Linked DNA regions of Homo sapiens: region 1 is linked to region 2. Evidence: promoter capture Hi-C in 16 types of primary human blood cells and fetal thymus (Javierre and others, 2016). All regions are on one chromosome and are shown on one strand. Each heading gives the region's core, a stretch centred on a gene start or on the middle of the fragment in contact. The rest is flanking DNA. Distances are from core to core; before and after follow the strand shown. Region 1 holds the start of SMUG1 (single-strand-selective monofunctional uracil-DNA glycosylase 1). Region 2 holds the start of HOXC11 (homeobox C11).

Evidence for each region. The method cuts DNA at HindIII sites, captures the fragments that hold promoters and counts their contacts. A CHiCAGO score of 5 or more calls a contact.
Region 1: a contact is called between a fragment that was not itself captured here and the fragment with the promoter of HOXC11 in region 2, in 1 of 17 cell types (activated CD4 T cells). The highest score is 5.3, in activated CD4 T cells.

Annotation. Positions count from the first base shown.
Region 1 is chr12:54,184,777-54,191,137 of GRCh38, forward strand. SMUG1 (single-strand-selective monofunctional uracil-DNA glycosylase 1) reads right to left here and starts at 4,209. Exons shown (of 4, transcript NM_001243787.2): 1 at 4,175-4,209; 2 at 3,043-3,126. It overlaps LOC105369777 (a long non-coding RNA gene), which reads left to right and starts at 4,321. Exons shown (of 3, transcript XR_944984.2): 1 at 4,321-4,426; 2 at 5,672-5,758. The HindIII fragment of the contact is 706 bases long and covers 1,179-1,884 here.
Region 2 is chr12:53,970,663-53,976,983 of GRCh38, forward strand. It overlaps HOXC11 (homeobox C11), which reads left to right and starts at 2,464. Exons shown (of 2, transcript NM_014212.4): 1 at 2,464-3,261; 2 at 4,519-6,321. The coding sequence starts at 2,580. The coding sequence ends at 4,751. HOTAIR (HOX transcript antisense RNA) reads right to left here and starts at 4,292. Exons shown (of 7, transcript NR_186241.1): 1 at 4,236-4,292. RefSeq lists enhancers at 3,690-4,284, 4,615-4,764. The HindIII fragment of the contact is 12,279 bases long and covers 1-6,321 here.

The DNA of each region.
Region 1 (6,361 bases), core at 282-2,781, 210 kb after region 2:
TCCTCATAGAATCTTACGAGCTACACAACCATGGCCAGAGCCTCAGGTTTCCACCTTCAAATACAAAGAATAATAATATCCACTTAATAATGTTGACATAAGGAAGGCCAGGCATGGTGGCTCATGCCTGTAATCCCAGCACTTTGGGAGGCCAAGGCGGCTGAATCACCTTAGGTCAGGCGTTCAAAACTGGCCTGGCCAACATGGCGAAACCCCGTCTCTACTAAAAATTACAAAAATTAGCTGGGCATGCTGGGCGTGGTGGCTCAAGCCTGTAATCCCAGCACTTTAGGAGGCTGAGGTGGGCAGATCACCTGAGGTCGGGAGTTCGAGACCAGCCTGACCAAAATGGAGAAACTCCCACCTCTACTAAAAATACAAATTAGTCAGGCATGGTGGTACGTGCCTGTAATCCCGGCTACTCTGGAGGCTGAGGCAGAATCATTTGAACCTGAAAGGTGGAGGTTGCGGTGAGCCAAGATCGTGCCATTGCACTCCAGCACGGGCAACAACAGTGAAACTCTCTCTCAAAAAAAAAAAATTAGCTGGGCGTTGTGGTGGGCACCTGTAATCCCAGCTACTCGGGAGGCTGAGGCAGGGAGAACTGCCTGAACCCGGGAGGCTGAGGTTGCAGTGAGCCAAGATCGTGCCACTGCACTCAAGCCTGGGCAAAAGAGCAAGACTCCATCTCAAAAAAAAATAAAATAAAAAATAAATAAATAAATAAATAAATAAATAAATAAATAAATAAATTTGCCGGGCGCAACAGCTCATGCCTGTAATCCCAGTACTTTGGGAGGCTGAGGCAGGTGGATCACGAGGTCAGGAGTTCAAGATCAACCTGGCCAACATGGTGAAACCCCGTCTCAACTAAAAATACAAAAATTAGCTGGGCATGGTGGCACGTGCCTGTAATTCCAGCTACATGGGAGGCTGAGGCAGGAGAATTGCTTGAACCAGGACCTGGGAGGCAGAGGTTGCAGTGAGCCGAGATTGTGCCACTGCACTCCAGCCTGGGCTACAGAGGGAGACTGTCTCAAAACAAACAAACAGACGTAAGGATGGAATGAGATGTTATGTTTAGGTGAAGGGAGAAAAGAAATGGGAGAGGAAGAAGAAAGGGAAGAGAGAAGGGAGGTGGGAGGAAGGAGAAGGGAGGGGGCAGGAACATGACAGCAAGCTTTGTAAACTGCAAAGGCCATTGCTTCACTCCACTCCCATTCAAACCCAGTGTTCCAACCTGACCATTCTACTCACATTTTCAAAATGCCTTTCCTGCCTCAACTCCCAAAACCTTGCACATACCATTTCTACAGTCCAACCAAATACACTCCTGAAGTCAACCAGGACATCATCCAGCAGTCATCCAGTCAACTAGGACTGTTGATTCCCCAACCTGTCCACATATCCAAATCACTCCCATCCTTCAAAATGCAGCTCAAACCATCCCTTTGATAAAGTCTTCCCTCCTCAGAACACTGCAGTATTTGCCATAGTGTCCCAACCCCACCCCCAACACAAGTAGGTCCCGTGTGAGGCCTGGGAATCTGTGTTTTTTGTTTTGTTTTGTTTTGTTTTTTTTTTGAGACAGAATCTTGCTCTGTCGCCCAGACTGGAGTGCAGTGGCGCGATCTCAGCTCACTGCAACCTCTGCCTCCCGGGTTCAAGTGATTCTCCCACCTTAGCCTCCTGGGTACTGGGATTACAGGTGCGCAGCACCACACCCGGCTAATTTTCGTATTTTCAGTAGAGACAGGGTTTCACCATGTTGGTCAGGCTGGTCTCGAACTCCTGACCTCATGATCTGCCTGCCTCAGCCTCCCAAAGTGCTGGGATTACAAACGTGAGCTACCGTGCCCAGCCTGGGAATCTGTATTTTAAACAAGCTTCCCAGGGTGATTCTGATGGTTGGTGAAGGCTGAGAACCACTGTGTGTCACCATGGTTACCGTCGTCTTAATGAATTCCTTTTGCCTCCCCAGCTAAACTTGGGCAGATCAAGAGCCAGGCCTTGTTCAATCTCCCTCCATAAGCCCAAGGTCCTGGCCCTTATTAGGTACTCAACAAACACCTGCTCAGCAATGTCCATCTTCTTTTTCACTTTTGTTTAAAACTACCTTCTGTGCTGGGCACAGTGGCTCATGCCTGTAATCCCAGCACTTTGAGAGGCCAAGGCAGAAGAATTGCTTGAGGCCAGGAGTTCAAGACCAGCCTGGCTGACATAATGAGACCCCATCTGTAAATATAAAAATAAAATAAACAGCTTTTACCAAGGAGGCACTCCTGATGGATCCTTCTCCACTTCTATATCCTGAGTTCACTCAAGGCTTAGCTGCCCACTTTGCACTCTGCTTGTTTTCCAGACTCTGGGTCTGTGCCCATCATATGTGTGCCTCCCATGCGACAAGGACCATTGTCATTCCTTCCTCTCAACTTTCTGCCTGGGTCAGGAGTGACTTCTCCAAGATAAGAACTCAAGGTTGACACAACAGCTCGATAAACCTATTTTCTCACCCTAGCCTAGGGGAAGTGGGAGAGAAAAGAAATCAGAGGCCCAACTTAGGAAGTCCTTCCCTGACTGTCTCAGTAGTCTTTAACTGATCTGTTGTCCAGGTGGCTACCCAGGACAAACTGGGCTCATACAAAAGCTGAGAAGGGTGCTGTGGAGAACGCCAGTGTTTCAGGGGACCTTGCTTTGCATCTCCCCATGCAACACCAACATTAGCAGATTGGCTGCTCCAGCTCTAGAATCTCGAGAAGTCTTGAGCCCACCTTTGACATTTAGACACCTGTGTTGGAAACAGCAAGGCTGGGGAAAAGAGTGGCAAGATACTACTTTCATTGTTCCATAACTTCAAAGCCTGATCTCATAGCAAGAGCCACAGGCTGGAAGTCAATTGATTTGAATTCTACTCCTGTTTCATCTCTAAGAAGGTTCTCTTGAGCAACTCATTTAACTCTCTTCTCTATGGAAAATCACATACTCCATCCAACCTACCACCTGTTAACTCATTTTTTTTTTCAATACTTATGAGTCTCTTACATGACAGGCACTGCAGCAGTCTCTTGATGAGGAAGAAATCCAAAAAGAGTAAAATGTAGGCCAGGCTTTCTGTAAGCTCATAATCTGCTGTGAGGGCAAATAAACAACTAACTGTAATACAGTGTGATGTGAGCTTTAATACCCGGAACAAAACACTAAGAGAACCCAAAGGAGGAACTTGTAAGTTCTACCCAAAGTCGCCCCAAGAGCCAGAGGCTTAAGAAATGTAGATATTTTATAAAATACGGTGTCATACTACATTAAGCACAAAGACAGCGGAGTTGGACCAAGCGATAAGGCTGACCACCAAGGGCCGACTTCAGACTGATGTCAGACTTCTCTGACATCAAATCCGGGAAGTGAGGAAGGAATCGAAATCACATATGCACTCCCCTGTCCTTTGGAGGCACTCCGGGAGTCCAGGGACAATAATAAATATCCTTAAACGAAATAATAATAATAATAATAATAATAATAAATAATAATAATAATAATAATAATAATAATAATAATAATAATAATGCATAGGCCGGGCGCGGTGGCTCACACCCGTAATCCGAGCACTTTGGGAGGCCGAGGCGGGCGGATCACGAGGTCAGGACTTCGAGACCAGCCTGACCAACATGGTGAAACCCAGTCTCTACTAAATACAAAAATTAGCTGGGCATGGTGGCGCGCGCCTGTAATCCCACCTACTCGGGAGGCTGAGGCAGAAGAATCGCTTGAACCCGGGAGGCGGAGGCTGCAGTGAGCTGAGATCGCGCCATTGCACTCCAGCCTGGAATTCAGAGCAAAATTCCGTCTCAGAAAAATAAATAAATAAACAATAATAATAATAAAGCATAAACTCAAAAAGACCATTTCATCTGGTTCCAAAGGGGCCGACTACTAAGGCACCATACAAAACCTCCGGGGGCGCCCGCTGGCTCCGGCCGACTGGAAAGCCTTGATCCTGCAGACCTCCCAGGCGGTTTCATAGGCTGGGCTCTCCCTGCACTGAGTCTTACCCCATACGGAGGGAGGGACCCCAAAATATAGAAATTCTAACCACCCTCTCGGCTCAGCCCCGACGACCCTGGGAGCCGTCAACTTGCCCCCACAGTCCCGGATTCCCAGCCCCCTACTTCCTCACCTGGTCCAGCTCCCCATCCCGTTTCCGGTTCCTTTCCCCCACCCCAAACCCAACCCCCGGCGCTAAGGACAGTGGGAGTCGTAGTCTACATTGTTTAGGGAAGGAGATTGGCGTACCCGCAGCCACTTCCGCCGGAAATGCTCCAATCCCGGAAGGCGCACTAAATTAGCCCTAAAGATCGCTGGGAATTGTAGTTTAATCTTTCCATCAGCGTTAAATCAGGAAGTCTTGAGAAGTGAAAAGCCACAGCCTGTAAGTACCTAGGAAATCCTGGGTTCTATCCCTAAAGGGCATCGCCCTTCCAAAAGTTCATTCACTATTTTCCCAAAGGGATTGCAAATCAGGAAGCTTCAACCATCCCCAATCCCTCACCCACCTGAAGGTATTAACAATAGCTAAAGACCATTGCTAGGCCCCCTGCCACCGTGGGTATAAGAGACTTCTCCTTTGCAGCCTGCCATTACTTATACAGAACATCCACGAAGACATTTCTGGTAGCTCCTAACAACTTTTTAGCAAGGGGCATCCCCCATTACTGTCCAAGCCCATCTCCAGAGTGTCACCATTTTGACTTCTTTCTCTGCCTTGCTATCTGCCCAACCCTATAACCTCAGTATTAGTCAAGAGTTTTCCAGAGAACAGAACTAACAGGATATCTATCTATATGACGAGATTTATTCCAAGAATTGGCTCACAGGATTGTGGAGGCCAAGAAGTCCCACAGTCTCCCGCTCTGCTGTCTATACACTGGAGAACCAGGAAAACAGGTGGTATAATTCAGGAAAGTCCAAAGCAGGGGAGGAGGCTCACTGCTAAGTCCCAGAGCCTGAAGGACGAAGAACCAGGAACTCCAATGATGTCCAAAGGCAGGTAAAATAGATGTCCCAGCTCATGAAGAAAGAGAATTTGCCTTCCTCCACTCTTTTGTTCTACTGGCCCCCAAGGGATTGGATGGTTCCCACCCATATTAATGAGGGTGATCTTCTTAGTCTACCAATTCAAATGCAAATCTCTTCCAGAAACACTCCACAGACATATCCAGAAATAATGTTTTACCAGCTATCTGGGTGTCCCTTAGACCACTCAAGTAGACACATAAAGTTAGCTATCACTCTTCCATCCAAATCTTCTCCCTCAAATACTTTGTCCAGGAAGGCTTCCCTGATCAATCCTCATCCCATGGCTGCACCTAACAGTCCATTCCCCCACCATTCCCCCATCCCAATATCTATGTCCAAATCTGTCCTATTCCTAGTTTTGTTCTTGTGCTCTATCTGGGTCTGGTTCTGTGTCGTGACTCTAAAACTTTCATTAGACTGGGAACCCCCTAAGGTTAGTTATCTTCTATATTCCTCCCACCCCACAATCTCCACACACCTTAGCACAGCCAAGGCTCTAATCACAGAAGCAAGGTCTCCCTGTGAGTGGTAGAAAAGGAGACCTATAAACCCCAGAACAGGAAGAAGTGAGAGAAAAAGGATGCTATTCCCTTCCCAGGACTTGTCTGATCTCCTATCAACAAAAACTTAATGGGTGCAGTAGGAGCTTCAGGGAGCTGTGAGCAGTGACCTGCTGACATCAAGGGTGAGAAACTACCCTGACCCTTGCAAGACTTTGGAAATGGAATTAATCATCCACCTCATGAAGCCCATAATTTCCTGAGCTTTAATTTTTACCAGATCCTCTCCCTCTCTGTGTCTCTCTCTGCCTATGTTATTTGCCCCTCTCTACTTATGTAAATTTATCTCTATTTCTAGTCTCTTGTGTAGCTTTCTCTCTGTATCTGCAGGTCTCTGTCTCCCTCTGTGAACATCTCCCTGTTTCTGCTTCTTACCCTAGAATGACTGGAATAAGAGAATCTGAGCTTCTAGAACAAGTTCCCCCATCTCTGTGTGTCTATGTATTTCTGTGTTTCTGACCAAAAATAAGGTGAAGGGACCTCATTGTGGTGTCATCTCATTGCTTAAAAATTCCAGGATTTCCACCATCCCTTGGACAACCCTCCTGTCCACCCCGACCCCTCTGTCACTTGCTTGCCCAGCACTTCTGTTCTAGTTTGTCATCTTGGCAGCCCCTCCACATTCAAAGTCTGCTTCTGGCAGAACAATAATGAGTGAAATGAGTAACAGGCAAGCAGAGATCCCCCAGGACCTCCACCTCCCCACCCCTGATTTCAATTTCCTAGAA
Region 2 (6,321 bases), core at 1,214-3,713:
CATTCTTTCTTGCATTTCTTTTTTGTTTCAAGGAAATAGGGCCGCCAGCAGCTCCTTGTTGCCGCCTGGCTCACTTTTATGGTGGCCCAGGAATAAACTTTGGTGGTCAAATTCAAGTGCTCAGTCCAGCAGCTGTCTCCTCACAGGATACAGCCCCTACCCCCATCTCAGTCCTGGCTTTGCTGAATCTGCCTTGGGGGATTGGGCCCCACATCACCCTGGAGGGCCAGGAGGGGGAAGGAAGCAGAGCCTTGGGTGGAAGTGGAGAAAGCGGGATCTGAGACTCGAGCCCTCATCCACACCTCTGCAAGGATAGGGGTACCTCTCGCTTCCCTCTTGCTGGTTCCTATCACTGTTTGGGCAGCATTTTGCCTTCAATAAACTCGAGTTTAATGAGGTCAGTGTGAACCCCATTAAAAGCCATAGTCCATAGTTCCCCACCACTATAATTAAAAATGCTGGCCCCATCTCACTCTATAAAAAGGGCTAGAGGAAAAAGGAAACACAGCAGATTTTTCTTTTCATGGCCCCTTACCAACAGAAGTCTCACACTTCAGCAAAGCCCCAATCTAGTTCTTCTTTGCTTCAGTTTAAGATCTGACCAGAACTAAAGGAGTAGCGCCCAGCATTGAGTGCGTAGAGGGGCACCTGAGACCTATCCCTGAGTATTCCAGAACCACCCTGAGAATGGGACCCATGGTGGAGGCAGACTCCACTCAGGTGTCACTTAAATGCTGAGCAAGTTTGAGGAGGCAGGAGCATTGAGGAGGAATGGATTTTAGGGGTTACATATGGAGACAAGCTACAATTTTTTGTGTCCTCCTTATCTGGTTTGGGAGCCGCAGCACCTTATCATGTTTCATCAAGACAAATCCATTCTAATTTCTTTAAGTGGAAACTAATTTTAACTGAGGGTTATGGATGTAAAGAGAGTTCGGGCTATTTTTTGTTTTCCCCTGAGTGTGCATTGGGCTGAGCCCTTGGGGGCTTCGGTTCTTCCCCTCCTTCCCAAACAAATTGTGCCCTGGCAGCTCCTCTTTGGATCCAAGGTTGCTTTCAGCTCATGCTGGTTGCTTTTGGCCCCTTGGACCCAGTCCAGAACCTTTCAATAAAGTGATTTTCAGATGCCCACATGTGTCCTGTGGTGCTCAGAGGGATGGAAGGCAAGGGGTTGGGGATGCAGAATGACTGAGCCTACTTCTTGGGCTACAGCTATCCAGGAGGCTGACAGACTTGTAGGAGGGCAGGACAGGGCTGAGAAATAGGAAGGAGGCACTAAGATCTGGTCACAGCCCCAGGGACAGAGGCTGGGGGCTTTGACTAGGGAGTGGCCGCTGGGCCTCCCCTGATGCCACAGCATCCACCGCTCCTTTCCACTGTCTGGTTAGTCTCTTCTGGAGACCCATACCTGGCCCCACCACCCACCTTACAGTCCTCAAAATCATCCAAGGATAAGAACCCCAAACCTAGTCCCCCCCACCATATTCTTCCTGGACCCCTACACTAGGCTTCTTTTCAGCGCACTAGCTGAGGCTGAGCCACTAAGCCAAAGGGCCCTGACATAGAAGATACATGGCTCTCATTCCAATCCTTTTCTTTGGGGTTTGGGATTTGAAAATCCACAGTGGATGTAGCTTTCTTCACATTGATTGACAATAAAGGCAGGCATGAAATATTCACCCAGGGCCACTCTCTCATACTAAATATTTAACACAACATTAGAGAAGGTTTTTCCCAGACTTCGCCAGGCACCGGCTGGGCGGCTGGCGCACTGCTCACCACTCGTTTATGACTAATCTGACTCCCTAGCCAGGGGCAGCACAGCAAGCCAGACAAAGTTGGGACACTGGCTTGCAGCTGGGCTGCCTCACCTTTGGGAAACTTCAGATACTCTTCCGGGAGTCTCTCTAAGGACTCCAGAAAGGTAGTCTTGACACCCAGCTCTGGCCAGGAAAAGAGTGGACTTCTTCAAACTCTTGTGAACAGGCGGTGTCTCTGCGGGTTGGAAGGGTAAGAGTCCCTGAGATTTAAGGGAAAGGATTCACTTCTCTGGGGAAATCAGGCAGTGGGGAAAGAAGTCCTCACTCCCACCCTCCTGGTGCTGCTCACAGAGAGGAGGCAAGACCCCCATACATGAGAGCCCTCCTCCTTCCCCCAATCCTGGGGGAAAAAAGAGCAGCAGCTAGAAAAAAATACAATTACCCCTTCCCAGCCACCACCCTCGCCCATCCCACCGCCCACCCCACCCCAACCCTCTCTCTCCTCCTTTGCTCGTGCTGTGGTATGGAGAGAAGGGGAGTGACGAGAGAAAAACGAATACAAATCTGCAATTGATTTTCATAATGTTTCTGCGGTGTTTGCAAACCAATCGCCTGAACGTCCCCGATCTTACCTAAGAGAGAACCCCTCCTACGTCTGCGAAGTGCTCCGAACTGATATATGACAATATCTACTTTGGATCACGTGCTCAGAGAGAGAGAGACTAAGACGGATAACGCGTCATCTCGCCTTCCCAAATTTTCCCCCCTCGCTAGACCGGGTCCAAAACCTCCATCCGGAGCCGGCAGGAGAGGAGAACGATGTTTAACTCGGTCAACCTGGGCAACTTCTGCTCTCCGTCGCGCAAGGAGAGGGGCGCAGATTTCGGCGAGCGAGGGAGCTGCGCCTCCAACCTCTATCTGCCCAGTTGCACTTACTACATGCCCGAGTTCTCCACGGTCTCCTCCTTCCTGCCCCAGGCCCCCTCTCGTCAGATCTCCTATCCCTACTCGGCCCAAGTGCCCCCGGTCCGGGAGGTCTCCTACGGCCTGGAGCCATCCGGCAAGTGGCACCATCGGAACAGCTACTCCTCCTGCTATGCGGCGGCCGACGAGCTTATGCACCGGGAGTGCCTGCCTCCTTCCACCGTCACCGAGATCCTCATGAAAAACGAAGGCTCCTACGGCGGCCACCACCACCCCAGCGCCCCGCACGCAACCCCCGCCGGCTTCTACTCCTCAGTCAACAAGAACAGCGTCCTGCCTCAAGCCTTCGACCGTTTCTTCGACAACGCCTACTGCGGTGGCGGCGACCCGCCCGCCGAGCCCCCCTGCTCCGGCAAGGGCGAGGCCAAGGGGGAGCCCGAGGCACCCCCGGCCTCGGGACTGGCGTCCCGGGCTGAGGCGGGTGCCGAGGCGGAGGCTGAGGAGGAGAACACAAATCCCAGCTCGTCCGGTTCAGCCCACTCCGTGGCCAAGGAGCCGGCCAAAGGAGCCGCCCCCAGTAGGTAGCAGCGGCCGGGGAACGGGCGGGCAGCGAGGGAGGGAGCGAGAGAGGGAGGGCGAGAGAAGGGGGGAGGCAAGGGGAGCGGGGACGGCCTCGTGTTTTGGGTCAGTCCGATTTTATGTGGAGTTTTATAAGCATTCAAAGGATTTTATTATAACCTACAAAGCCCTCTCTCCCAACGACTCGACTTTTTACGATGGAGAAGGGGTGGGGAGGGAGGGAAAAGGGCTCTTTGGAAAAGCCGGGTGAACCCCCCTCCCCCGTTATCTCCCTCGGTCTGTGAAATTTTTAAAAGCGCAACCATTGCGGGCGATATTAACTTTGATCGTGAACTTAGAGGAGCATTTAAGGAAGTATGGGGAGCCGGGCTGCCGAGGAGTGGGGAGGAGGGGAGGGGTGGAGGGGGAGAAAGGGGAGGGCGAGGGAAAGACAGGGAGAGATCCAGAGAGGGGGAGAGGTGGGGGAGAGGAGCAATGGAGCAGAACCTGAGACCGGAGAGGCAAGCCAGGACCGCTATGATCCTTCTTAAAACTAGTTTTGAAAATGTTCAAACTATGTGTTCGCGGGTCCTCGAGCAGAAACCCAAGCAACTCTGGGGTCAGCGGCGACAGGGGAATGGGGCGAGGCGGCGCAGGACTCCACTGCGTTCCAGGCGGGGGTCTGGGCGTTTCTCCCGGGTCCGCGGCCTTAGTGCTTGCCTAGAACTGCGGTGTGGAAGGCGCTGCCCCGCGGGCTTCCCGGGGCGCCAGGGCCCCGGAAGCGGCTCTCTGGTGTCTCGGTGCCTGCTGGCCGGCTTCCTCCCCGCCTCCCGACTGCTCTCGCCAGATTTCACTGCTTCGCGCCTGTTCTCAGCTTTCCCCCCAGATTTCTGGGGGAGGGGTTGGGCTTTCCGAACCACTAGGAGGGCGGCCCAGGAAGGGCCCGAGGGCGGAGGGGGAGCAGACAGGGGGCCCGAGGGGACGCACGTGTACCTGGAGGGCTTTCCTTCTGTCCCAGACCCTGTCAGCCGCGGCTCTCGCCTGAGAACTGGGGACGGGGTGGCGCAGTGGCGGGGGGGTGGGGACCCGCTAGACCTGGCAGGGGGTCGAGGCTTGCCCGGGTGCTGCGGCTGCAGGAGAGCCAGCCGCCTGGCGGGAGGGCTGCCCGCGGTGGGCTAGGAGAAGGGCCGCTGAGCGCTCAGCGGGCTGGGGTCGCCCGGGTCTCACGTGTCTCTCTCCCCCCTCTCCTCGCACTTGCCCCCTCCCCTCCCTCCAGACGCCCCCCGCACCCGCAAGAAGCGCTGCCCTTATTCGAAATTCCAGATCCGGGAACTGGAGCGAGAGTTTTTCTTCAACGTGTATATCAACAAAGAGAAGCGGCTGCAGCTGTCCCGGATGCTGAACCTGACGGACCGACAAGTGAAAATTTGGTTTCAGAACAGAAGGATGAAAGAAAAGAAACTGAGCAGAGACCGGCTGCAGTATTTCTCGGGAAATCCTCTGCTGTAACCTGCAGACCGGGCCCTTTTGGGGGCGGGGGGAGGGGAAAATTATTTTATTTTATTTTTATTTTTTATTTTCTAACTCGTCTTCTTTCCGCCGGTGGAAAACTGGACTGTGGCCAGGGCTGGCCCCCACCGCTGTGGCCGGCACTCCATTCCGGAACCTCCTGGACCCTCTATCTGACTCTCGCTGTGGGACAGGGACCGGGCCTGGAAAGGGGGTGAAGGGAAGTGTCTGATGCACGGCGAGTGAACACCGTTGGCGCCGAGGCCAAGACTTTGATTTAAAAGAAAACACACCTCGGCGACAATGTCTTGCTGCTCGGATTAGGTGGGGGAGGGGCGACAGTAGTGAGCGCCTGAGCCGAACAATCCTCGAACTAAAAGCCTTCCCTTGCCCATGTGAAAAGATCCGCTAAGACAGCATGTCTGCCAGCGGAAACTTCTCGAGCTCCCCCCTCTACCCCGCCCCACCTTGCAGCTAAATGTGATCCTGCCTTGCTGTGAAATTTCTGTACCTTCAACCTGGTGTTAGGTGTGCAAAGTCCGTGTCCTACCTCCGTCTTCGCCAAGGCCCCGCCCGAGCCTAGTTGTTCTCCCCCTGAATGTGTAGAACCTTCCTTTGAAATTTCTTAATCGGTGCATTGAGGTTTCCACATCTTTTTCCAAGCAGTGCCCCACTTCATGGATTTATAGCTATAGTCTATGCAGTCGTTACCTCTTTTTTTTTTTTTTTTAAGAAAATTGAAGATTGGGGTGGTGGAGGCAGTAGGGAGATGGGATTGGGCACCTCCCCCGTGCTGGGGCCTGGATTTTTGTAAATAAATTTCCCAAGCGTTTCTTTCCACCTGGAGGGAAAGGGGGGGACGCCCCCAGTGAGATTCAAATCACGCATCTCTACTCCTCTGCGTGAGTGCGTGTGTACATGTGCACTCCCCACCCTGCTCCCTTCCCAGAGGGATTGCTGTGAAATTTTTTTGGTGGCAAATAAAGATAAATTTCATTCTGTTCAATATTATGATTTTATTTGACCCTTTTATTAACCCCTCTCCTCTTAAAATCCTCCATGCTCCCATGGCAGCGGCGGAGGAGGAGGAGGCAGGCAGGCAGAGCCCAGCGGGTGAGGACAGGCAGGCAGAGGTGAGATAGGCCGGTGCTAGCCGGCCTGGAGCTCCTCTCCGCTGGCAGGGCCAAGAGTATGGCCGTAGTCTCCTCACATTCTCAAGCTGAGGACATTCCATAGCTACTCTGAAGCTCTCCTTTCTCACGTGCAGCTCGAGCTGTGTCCAAACGCCCAGCAACGGCTTTCTGTTTAAGTACACGTTTGTTGTGGAGTTAATTGTAACCATCATCGAATTTAAATTTATAGGAATTTTTTTGGCTCCACCGCCCTTCTGCCAGATGTCTCCGTCTGTCGCAGTTAAATGTGTAGTGTGGAGGTTAGGGCTTTTTTTTTTTTTTCTCTAGGAGAAATCTGTATTGGAATTTTTATACACTGTTTTTAAGGAAGGAGGGGACAGAAGGAGAAACCAGCCCCCTCCCTCTCCTCTCCACAGCTCCTGGGGGTGGGAAGGTGG